3 separate regions of the Homo sapiens genome follow, and all the other regions are linked to region 2. The links are contacts of gene promoters, found by promoter capture Hi-C in blood cells and fetal thymus (Javierre and others, 2016). All regions are on one chromosome and are shown on one strand. The core of a region is centred on a gene start or on the middle of the fragment in contact, and the rest is flanking DNA. Distances in the headings are between cores, read along the strand shown. Region 1 overlaps LOC124901408 (a long non-coding RNA gene). Region 2 holds the start of SLC18B1 (solute carrier family 18 member B1). Region 3 overlaps BCLAF1 (BCL2 associated transcription factor 1).

What was found. Contacts are between HindIII fragments. The CHiCAGO score rates a contact against its expected background, and 5 or more counts as called.
Region 1: a fragment that was not itself captured here is called in contact with the fragment with the promoter of SLC18B1 in region 2 in 1 of 17 cell types (non-activated CD4 T cells); the score reaches 8.8 in non-activated CD4 T cells.
Region 3: a fragment that was not itself captured here is called in contact with the fragment with the promoter of SLC18B1 in region 2 in 1 of 17 cell types (total CD8 T cells); the score reaches 6.6 in total CD8 T cells.

What each region holds. Positions count from the first base shown.
Region 1 is chr6:136,297,317-136,300,764 of GRCh38, forward strand. All of the region lies in intron 2 of LOC124901408 (a long non-coding RNA gene), which reads left to right. Among named protein-coding and RNA genes, the nearest start is that of BCLAF1, 9.2 kb to the left of the region's middle. The HindIII fragment of the contact is 594 bases long and covers 1,828-2,421 here.
Region 2 is chr6:132,797,351-132,800,600 of GRCh38, forward strand. SLC18B1 (solute carrier family 18 member B1) reads right to left here and starts at 1,287. Exons shown (of 14, transcript NM_052831.3): 1 at 1,064-1,287. The coding sequence starts at 1,106. RefSeq lists an enhancer at 1-73 and a silencer at 1,305-1,354. The HindIII fragment of the contact is 1,643 bases long and covers 1-1,522 here.
Region 3 is chr6:136,280,095-136,283,869 of GRCh38, forward strand. It overlaps BCLAF1 (BCL2 associated transcription factor 1), which reads right to left. Exons shown (of 13, transcript NM_014739.3): 2 at 2,490-2,593. Among named protein-coding and RNA genes, the nearest start is that of BCLAF1, 7.9 kb to the right of the region's middle. The HindIII fragment of the contact is 1,644 bases long and covers 737-2,380 here.

The sequences.
Region 1 (3,448 bases), core at 875-3,374, 3.5 Mb after region 2:
TCTCTATTAAAAGTTTAAAAATTGGTTGGGTGTGGTGGTGCACAACTGTAGTCCCATCTACTTGGAAGGCTGAGGCAGGAGGATTTCTAGAGCCCAGGATGTTGAGACTGCAGTGAGCCATGATTGCACCACTGCACTCCAGCATGGGTGACAGAGCGAGACCCTTTCTAAAAAAAAATAAAATAAAATAAGATAAAATCACAGGATGAGAAATATAGGGAGACAAGAGAAGACAGCCTAGGAGTGAACCCTAAAGAATCCCAACATTTAGAGATTTGTTAAAAGAGGAGGCGGAGCCAATAAAGGAGACTGAGAACAGCCTATGAAGTAGGAAATAAGTGAAATCAAATGTATTGGTTGTCTACTGCTGCGTAATGAATGACCCCAAATTTACCAGCTTAATGTTTACTATCTCACAGCTCCTGTGGATCAGAAATCTGAGAGTGATTATTTGGGTGGTTCTGGCTTAGGGTCCCTTGAAGTTGCACTCCAGCCTGGGTGACATAGGGAGACTATCTCTAAAAATAAATAAATAAGTCATTTTAAAAATCTCATTTAAAAATTTATCTATCTATGTAGAAACAGAAGAATCAACCTCAAAATGATACTGTTCTGTGTATATATTGAATGGCCACATCACTGGCAATTTTTAAAACATTTTCTTCCTTTGCTCTTCTGTATTTTCTAAAATTTCTACAATAAAAATTACTTTCATAATATTAATATCAAAAAACTTTTAAAAATGTAGACCATTGAATTTTATTTGAATTGTGTAAGATAATGAAGACCTAAAAACTGAGAGGTCTTGTTTTTGTTTTTTGAGACAGAGTCTCGCTCTGTTGCCCAGGCTGGAGTGCAGTGGCACGATCTCAGCTCACTGCAACCTCCACCTCCCAGGTTCAAGCAATTCTCCTGCCTCTGCCCCCCAAGTAGCTGGAATTACAGGCATGCACCACCACGCCTGGCAAATTTTTGTATTTTTAGTAGAGACGGGGTTTCACCATGTTGGCCGGGCTGTTCTCAAATTCCTGACCTCAGGTGATTTGCCAACCTCGGCCTCCCAAAGTGCTGGGATTACAAGCGTGAGCCACCTCGCCCAGCAAGTTTGTGTGTGTGTGTGTGTGTGTGTGTGTGTGTGTGTGGTTCTTCCAAATCAAGCGTAAAAGCTCTCATTTAATAAACAAGAAGAATAAGGATGGGTATGGTGTCTCATGCCTGTAATCCCATCACTTTAGGAAGCCGAAGAGGGAGGATTACTTACACCCAGAATTTGAACTGTGTGAGCCACTGTACTCCAACCTGGGTGACAGAGAGAGAACCTACCTCTAAAAAATACAAACATACATATATACATAATAAAATATCCATTACTAAATCACAATCTTGATAAGCCTAATTATAAACTGCTGCTAGGAGAATATTTGCTTCCAGAGAGAATCTTTTAGATTTGTTTTTGTGGGATTTTGGGGTTTTTTTTTCCTAGAGTGCTCTATAGTCCTCTTTTAGCTTCATGAATCTTCTGTCGAGCAATGAAGGGGAGTACTTGGTTCAACAAGAGAAAAACATATATAAAATTGTTTGCTTCCATTTAAAAGGAAACTTTACACTGAATTCCAACCAACTGTGATAGATAGATCTAAAAATGGCTTAATCCTTTGCAAGACAGTTATTTTTCAAAGTTCTATTTGTCATATTAGGGTCTGGCTAATTATGTTAAAAGCACCACTGGCTGATTTCTTAAGTTCCATTTTAGAGAGTATAGTGAAAGCACAGACCTGACTTTGTGTTTCTAGTATTTGTGCCATTATTTTTTAATCTACATTATTAAGCTTAACTTTGTACTGTAATGAGGTTAATTTCTACCCACACAAGCCCATCCAGTAGCTTTTCCTAAACACATTCATTCTTTGTTATATATTCCAGGGAGATATTTCTGTCAATGGCATGTGAGATGATCTATTCACTCCATGATGAGATGCTTACTGTTTGAAAACAAATTCATTCACATGCTTAAAAATTGCTCAGGAGCAGGAACTATACAAATATTTATTGTTATTGGCCATTTATAATTTATTCATAGTGATCCAGCTGACAACCATCTGGTGCATAAAACTGAAAATTGGAAGAAAAAAAGAGTAAAAGTCCCTGGAAAAATATAATTTAGTCTCCATATGTCTTTGATACATATTCAATACAATTTATTACTTGCTAGTGGTATGAGATGCTCTATAATAATAGATACATATATGAAATTTAACACAAAGGGAAATTGACATTTTACTCAAAAATGTATGTTGAAGGACAAAGTGAAGACAGTAGTAATAATACAGTAATTAGCAAATGTACATTGGCAAAGATAGTATAAACTAGGCTGTGGTAACAAATAGACTCCGGAATACATAATGACTTACATGCAATAGAAGCTTTTTCTCAAACAGTCCAAGACAGTTGAATTAGGTTGGTAAGTATTTTCTCCATGCAGTGATTCAGGGCCCTAAGCCATCTTGTGACTCCATGGATAGAACTCAGGGGTCTACCAATTCCCAAAGAATCCGTGGATAGAATTCAGACCTGTCACTATAATTTGTTGTTGTTGTTGTTGTTGTTTTTAATTCAATAGTTTTTTGGGTACCGGTGGTTTTTGGTTACATGGATGAATTCTTCAATGGTGAATTCTGAGATTTTAGTGCACCCATCACCCAAGCAGTGTACACTGTACCCAGTATGTAGTCTTGTATCCCTCACACCTCTCCCAACCTCCCAGAGATGTCGCTATATTTGTATGGGAAAAATTACATCCCTGTTGGGGCCGGGCGTGGTGGCTCACGCCTGCAATCCCCGCACTTTGGCAGGACAAGGCGGGCGGATTACCTGAGGTCAGGAATTTGAGACCAGCCTGGTCAACATGGTGAAACTCCATCTCTACTAAAAATATTTAAAAAATAGCCAGAAATGGTGGCAGGCACCTGTAATCCCAACTACTCGGGAGGCTGAGGCAGGAGAATCACTTGAACCCAGGAGGCAGAGGTTGCAGTGAGCCGAGATCGTGCCACTGCACGCCAGCCTGGGCAACAGAAAGAGACTCTGTCTCAAAAAAAAAAAAATAAATAAAAATTACATCCTTGTTAACTTCAAACTGAAATTTATCATTTCCCTTAATTATGAATGTAGGCAAAACCACAGAAGTATTACCAGTACTTATGACTTTGTAATAAATAAAAATCACCGATTTTTAAAAAATCATTACTGTTAGGCCAGGCATGGTGGCTCATGCCTGTAATCCCAGCACTTTGGGAGGCCAAGGCGGGCAGATCACAAGGTGAGGAGTTGGAAACCAGCCTGGCCAATATGGTGAAATCCTGTCTCTACTAAAAATACAAAAATTAGCCAGATGTGGTGGCGCATGCCTGTAGTCCCAGCTACTCGGGAGGCTGAGGCAGAAGAACCA
Region 2 (3,250 bases), core at 37-2,536:
GAACTTTGGGAGGCCGAGGCAGGCGGATCACGAGGTCAGGAGATCGAGACCATCCTGGCTAACACGGTGAAACCCCGTCTCTACTAAAAATACAAAAAATTAGCCGGGCGTGGTGGCGGGCCCCTGTATCCCAGCTACTCGGGAGGCTGAGGCAGGAGAATGGCGTGAACCCGGGAGGCGGAGCTTGCAGTGAGCCAAGATCGCACCACTGCACTCCAGCCTGGGCTACAGAGAGAGACTCCGTCTCAAAAAAGCAAAACAAAACAAACAAACAAAAACAAAAACAAAAACAAAAAACAAAGATTTCTAAGGCAGTATTGAAGTCAAATGAAGTGTAAGTAGGAGAAAACAAGCTAAATCATTCAGCTGGTGAATTAATATTTACAGCGGTATGCTTCTGGATAGACAAGTCCCACAAATTCATAAATAAATACTTTTTTTTTACCCTAATTACTGGTCTTTTACATCAGTTAATTTAACACTTATTTCCAGGGCTAAATTGTCATTTAAAAACACGAAATCAATTACTGAGTTCCAAATATCCAAGCAAATCCATCAGCCATTTATAAATTAAATTGTTTTTAGGAAAAACTTAAGAGAAATACATTTGCTTTGCTCTATTTGTCAGAGGTTGCCATTGCAGTCCAGAAGGAAAAAAAAAATCAGTGCAACATGAGGAAGTCTTACGAATCTTTGTAAAATGTTTGTAGTAGATGAGAAAGGGAAATGAAAGTTAAAAAGAAAGGCAACAACAATGGGTACTTGAAAGGTAACGTTTTACATTTGCCTAATGGCATACTTATTTGAATGCATTAAACACACAGTACTTAAAAAGCAGAGGTATAGGTTAGAAAGTCATTAGAAACCGTGACACATATCCAATCCTGGAACTTTACCCCGTCCAGAGAGAAAAGAAACGCTGGCCCGAACCCCACGATCAGGCCCCAGCCTTTTCCAATCTCTCGGAAACAGATCAAGCTATAAGCAATTCAATCGTTGCTAAAGAGACACGCCGGAAGCCGCCGCTGGTCTCCGGGCTCCCGGCCACGCAATTCATGGTCACCTCCTGGTGCGCGTGGTCCCTCCAGGTCACCCAGCGCCTCCATCCCCGGTGCGTGGACTCCGGCGCCCCAGCTCCCGGCTTCAAGCCACGTCCTTGGACTCGACCTCCAAGGAGCCACTGGCACTCTGGCGGGCGGCCGCTGCTCAGCTGGAACCTGGCATCCCCGACTCCCTGCAGGCAGCGATCCGCCCGGCCCGGAGCTCCCCAAAGCCTTCCAGGACTCTGGGTCCCCGGGAGGAGGCCGGGGGCGGGGCAGGGGTGGAGCAAGGCTCCTTTTTTTTTTGTTTTGCGCCCCCCCCCCGCCTCATTATCTTAATCCACCACCTCAGCTGCTATATCATGGTGTCCTTTTTCATTCTGTGACAGAGAGTGAAAAAAGATGAGTCTATATTCCATACAGCTGTACCCCCCTCAATCTTAAAATAAGTTCAATTTATTCCTACGAAACGAAAGAAAGGAAGCTTATGTAGACACAGAAAAGGCAGGGAGTACCTCAACTGAAAGACACAAAAGTGAATTAGAAAATTAGGTTATACAGGAACTTTGAAAGAGTGAATTATTTTTCACAGTGGGTAAATGCGGTAGTGTTCGTAATTACTGAAGCCAGACACTATTGAACCGGAAATGAATTAACCTATGTGAAGCACCTGGAGTCGAAAAATATTTGCAAGAATACTAATGAATATCGAGGAAGCATGGCGAAGTGGCTAGGAGTGCGACCTCTGGAGGCAGGTGCCAGGGATTCAAGCCAGGGCACTTGCTGGCAGTGTGTAACTTTGGATGACAAGGTCAGTTTCTCTACCTGTACAACTGAGATTATAATGTTTATCTCGTAGGGCGGCTGTGAGCATTGGCGATAAAGTGTGTTAGTAGTTAGCACATGAACATGATGGCTGCTACCTTACTCTCACACTCACAGTTTTCTTGCATAAAAAATAGGTTTCACTTATTTTCACCGTATTTACTATTTGGGAAGTGTTAAAGCTCGAGGACTGGCTGGACACGGTGGCTCATGCCTGTAATCCCAGCAGTTTGGGAGGCCGAGGTGGGCAGCTCACCTGAGGTCAGGAGTTCTAGACCAGCCCGGCCAACATGGTGAAACCCTGTCTCTACTATAAAAATACAAAAAAATCAGCCAGGCGTGGTGGCAGGCACCTGTAATCCCAGCTACTAGGGAGGCTGAGGCAGGAGAATCGTTTGAACCTGGGAGGCGGAGGTTACAGTGAGCCAAGATCCAAAAGAATTGTGTGAGGGTAGCTTTATCGACTGAGAATCTGCCTCAGATCCACTGTACAAGGTCAGTTCCAGTACACAGTATGGCTGATAGTAAGTTTGTAATTACTGTGCCACCTCATTCCAGCCTGGGTGAAAAAGCGAAACTCTGTCTCAAATAAATAAATAAAGTTTAAGGACTGGGAAATTCTTGTTTTGAAGCCAAAGCAAAACAAAAGACTGAGTTACCACTTTGTGCCAGGCATTATGAATTTAAAGAGGAATGAGCCCCATCCAGACTCTGCCCTCAAGTAGCACACCTTCTAGCAGATGAAATTCACACTAATTAATAATCTACTATAATGCAATCGGTTGTATACAAACATATTGGAAGAACCATTTACTTTGGCAAATGGGTCCTGGATGACTTCCTGAGGAAGTGATGTTACCTTGGTTCTTGAAGGTTATGTAAAAACTCCCCAGTGAGGGCCGGGCGCGGTGGCTCACGCCTGTAATCCCAGCACTTTGGGAGGCCGAGGTGGGCGGGTCACGAGGTCAGAAGTTCGAGACCTGCCTGACCAACACGGTGAAACCCCGTCTCTACAAAAATACAAAAATTAGCTGGGCATGATGGCACCCAGCTACTCAGGAGACTGAGGCAGGAGAATCGCTTGAACCTGGGACTCGGAGGTTGCAGTGAGCAGAGATCATGCCATTGCACTCCAGCCTGGGCAACCGAGCGAGACTCCATCTCAAAAAAAAAAAAAAAAAAATTCCCCAGTGGGCAAGTTGTAAAGGAGAACCTAGAGAACCACTCTGAACAGAAAGTTCCACTCTAAGCCAGGTGCTGTGGCTCACGCCTGTAATCCTAGCACTTTGGGAGGCCGAGGCAGGCAAATCACCTGAGGTCGAGAGTTTGAGACCAGGCTGACCAACATGGAGAAACCCTGTCTCTACTAAAAATACAAAATTAGC
Region 3 (3,775 bases), core at 309-2,808, 3.5 Mb after region 2:
AAGATTTTTACGGACTGCCCCACTTATGAGCCTCAATCCTAAAAGGCAGCAGCTGCAGAAGCCAGAAAAAGCAATGAGACTGCAGCAGCATGTTATGTGTTATTCCACGCCCAATACAAATGCCTACCCCTCCTGTAAGAAAGATAAATAATAAAGGTACTACAGATAAGGCAACTGAAATAAAATAAAGTGTCACAATACTAACAAAAAATAAACCTACCAGGCTGTTATCATAGTGCTTTATGGCCTTGAAAATGAGACTGAACTGACCACTCCATATACACAATCCTGTCTGGAGTGGTACTAGATAGTATCCTAGAACAATACAGGACACTAAGTTTCTAAACAGCTGGAGCCATGGCTCTGCTCTCAGTACTCATGACTCCAGAATAAAGTGGACTTATGTGACAATGCCTAGTTCACCCTGAAGCTTTCTGTTAAGAAGATTTAAAAAGAATAAAAGATAAAGAATTGGAGGGATTACTTCAAGAAAGATTTATTAGAACTACAAGAAAAAAAAAACTTGGGCACCAGTAGTTTAACTTTTCTAAACACTACATGGTATCCAATGCTATAATTAGACCTCATTGGGTACAGAAATCAGTAACTGTCAAAACTAATTGATTTATAAGATCTACTAATTGAAAAAACATACACATATAGCAAATCACTGCATGCATATCCCAAATGTCACATTTTCAACTTTTCAATGATTAGATTATATCTTAGCCTCTCAAGCTTGTTTTTGCTGCATAGAACTATTTCCAAATTTACACTAACTTACTCAAAAAGTATTCATTTCAATAAAAATCAACTTACTAAACTTCTAACACCTTGCAATTCCCATAATACTTAAATAGTATCTCCTACAACCAAGTATTTTTGAAGGCACTTTTTTACCTACCTAGACTTTGTTCGGTATAATAAAATAGTATTTGGAGGTACTAAGATGAGTTCAGTTATAGAAGAAGTAATGGTAATACTTGGATAGTTCCTCATCAAGCAATATAAATAACAAATTCAAGATGTTTGAGATAAATGCTTATTTCAAAATAAAACATAACTATCCTCTAATAGACTACCACCTTTGTCTTCTCTCACTCTTCTTCTCAATCCCAAGTAAGCAAGAAATACATAAAGACAGAAACAAAACATAGGTTCAGGGTTCAAAAAGGCAAAGTAAGAATTCCACAACACATAAGAAATAAATTTAGCATTAACATAAGGAGATCTGACACCTTGTAGAACACAAATTTGGTTTAGCAACTGTAGTTTTGACAACATAATGAAATTGGCAAAAACCACATTTACAGCCTGTAAAGGAAGGAATCTTGGCCACGGGGAACTGTGACATTCTCTTGCATCTGATTTCAAAATTCTGTCCCTCCCAAAGTTTTTAAAAGAATATAAATACGTAATTTACATTCATTCTGATCGAATTTACTTCAAGATATTTATTTTTATCCCACTCTGAGATAATCAGACACACTATAAAAAGAAACCAGAGCTGCAAATGATTTTGGAGATCCAGTCCAGCAATAAGACAACATCCTTTTTCATTGTACTAATCAGTAAATAAAACACTATTTTACTAAGAGCTACAGATGCTGTGTTGTGCTGTATCTCCAGAATCTCTGTTCTTTGCTCTTGAGGCTTTTTGGATGGTAATTTCTGTTAAAGGATTCAGGAATTCTGTAGGCTTTTTCAGTCACCAGGATGTAGCTGGGCTTGTGGCACACGAGCACAACAGGTATTTAATAAATAACTATAAAATGAATGCATTCCCCAGAACCTGGACATTTTTTAAAGCAGCAAGTTCATTTTTAAAGGTTTGCGTTTTGCTTTAAGCTACACCTGAAACTTCAAAAACTAACGGAAAGAAAGCATGCCTATCAAATAGTTAGCAGTCCAAAAGAAATGGATTGATATCTTCTGCTCTACTGCAAAAACAGGGAAAAAGCTAAGAACATGGTCTCTGCATTTAAACTACATGAATTCAAATTCCTTAAGCTCTCTGAGCCTGTTCCTCAACTGTAAAACGAAGAAAATAACAGTACCTACTTCACAGACTTGTAGTGGACTTAATGAGTTGATGAACTTAATTCACTTAATACATCTAACACATTAGCAATCAATTTGAATTACCTAAACACTACAGTAGAGAGAAACAAGTTATGAATCTCCTCTTGTTTACATTAGGGAAATGGGTTAAGTAGCAGTCTTTCTATCTTGTATGTCCTGAGTCTTTTAGTAGATGTGTTTATAGAAATAGAAAAAGCAGGAGCACAACCTGGAAGAAGACAGAAAAAGAACCTTTTTCCTAAAACTAACTTAACATCTGACTTACTTCATACAAGCCACCAAAATAAACAAAAAACAAAGCTTCGGACCACATCATTTTTAATCACTCCATCTGAATCATCAATTCAGTAGTGACATTTCCTCAAAAAAGTCAAAAGTGAAAACTAGAAAAATGAATGCTCTTTTACCTTGGTTTTATGCAGGATCAAGAAGTCAAGTGAAGTCTTTGAGATACTGTAAAAATTCTTCCTGGAGAGAATGCTCTGAGAAATTAAACTCTAAATTCGAATTCCTAGCAAAGACAAAAAAACCATTATTGTGATTTATGTTAAATTAAATAACCATTATTTACAATGCATATAATGGGCACTGCCATAAACTCTAATAAACGCACTTACAATTTCAGGGAAGGAAAAACTAATTCAGGAAATAGGAAACTTTTAACCGTAAAAGCTTAAAATTCAACTTTTTTGTAAACCACAATGCAGTAGCGTATCATGAAACTGACAGCATCTTTTTAACTACTTGAATTCTAATTTTAGTAATTTGAGCCTTAAAAAACATATGATATGTCGTTCCATCAGAAAATTCCAACGTAGCTAACATAATGCCATCTTGGTAGCGGGGCAAGGTAGCACAAGCCTGTAGTCCCAGCTACTTGGGAGGCTGATGCAGAAGGATCACTTGAGCCCAGGAGTTTGACACTGCAATGCACTGTGATCACACCTGTGACTAGCCTTGGCAACACACTCTAGCCTTGGCAACACAGCACGACCCCATCTCAAAAAAAAAAAAAAAAAAAAAAAAAAGGTAATCTGTAGTTAATTTTCATAATGCTCTACTTTATAACATCTAAAATATGAGTTTAATGCTCTGCTACTTATTCTCTTTTGGTACTTCCTTTCACACAATTTAGTTTCATGTGAAACTGATTTTTAAATCCACGTTAACAGCCATCATAGTAACTTTAAATTCTGTGCCTAAAAGCATCTTGATACGTCTACATTCAAATAAAAGAACAGTCAGCAATGAAACTTTTATCTACTGAAAGTCAATATTCTTCCTAAAATAATTTATCATTAATCTGTAAATAAACTTTGCACAAAATATTCAAGTTACCAATACTGAAAAGTTTAGCTTTATGTATATTCACATCAAGTATGTGCAAAGGATAGTCAAAAGCACCAGGCGAACAGAAACTAAGGAATACAAGATTAATATACATCAGCACTCAAAGAATTCATGAACAAGTTTAAATGGAAATCTGTAACTCTTACCAAGATCCAATTTTAAAAATAAAACGAGACTGGAAATACAAAGAAGAAATGGTAACATTAAACTGGTGAATCAAGAATAGCGTCTCCTAAAATATCCATGGCCCTCCAACTGGGGAGAGATTTGAGGTTCAGCCTAGGAAGGAGGAATCGGAACCTATTAAGGGAAACACTAAAAAAGTAGCAAAGTCAAAAAGCCA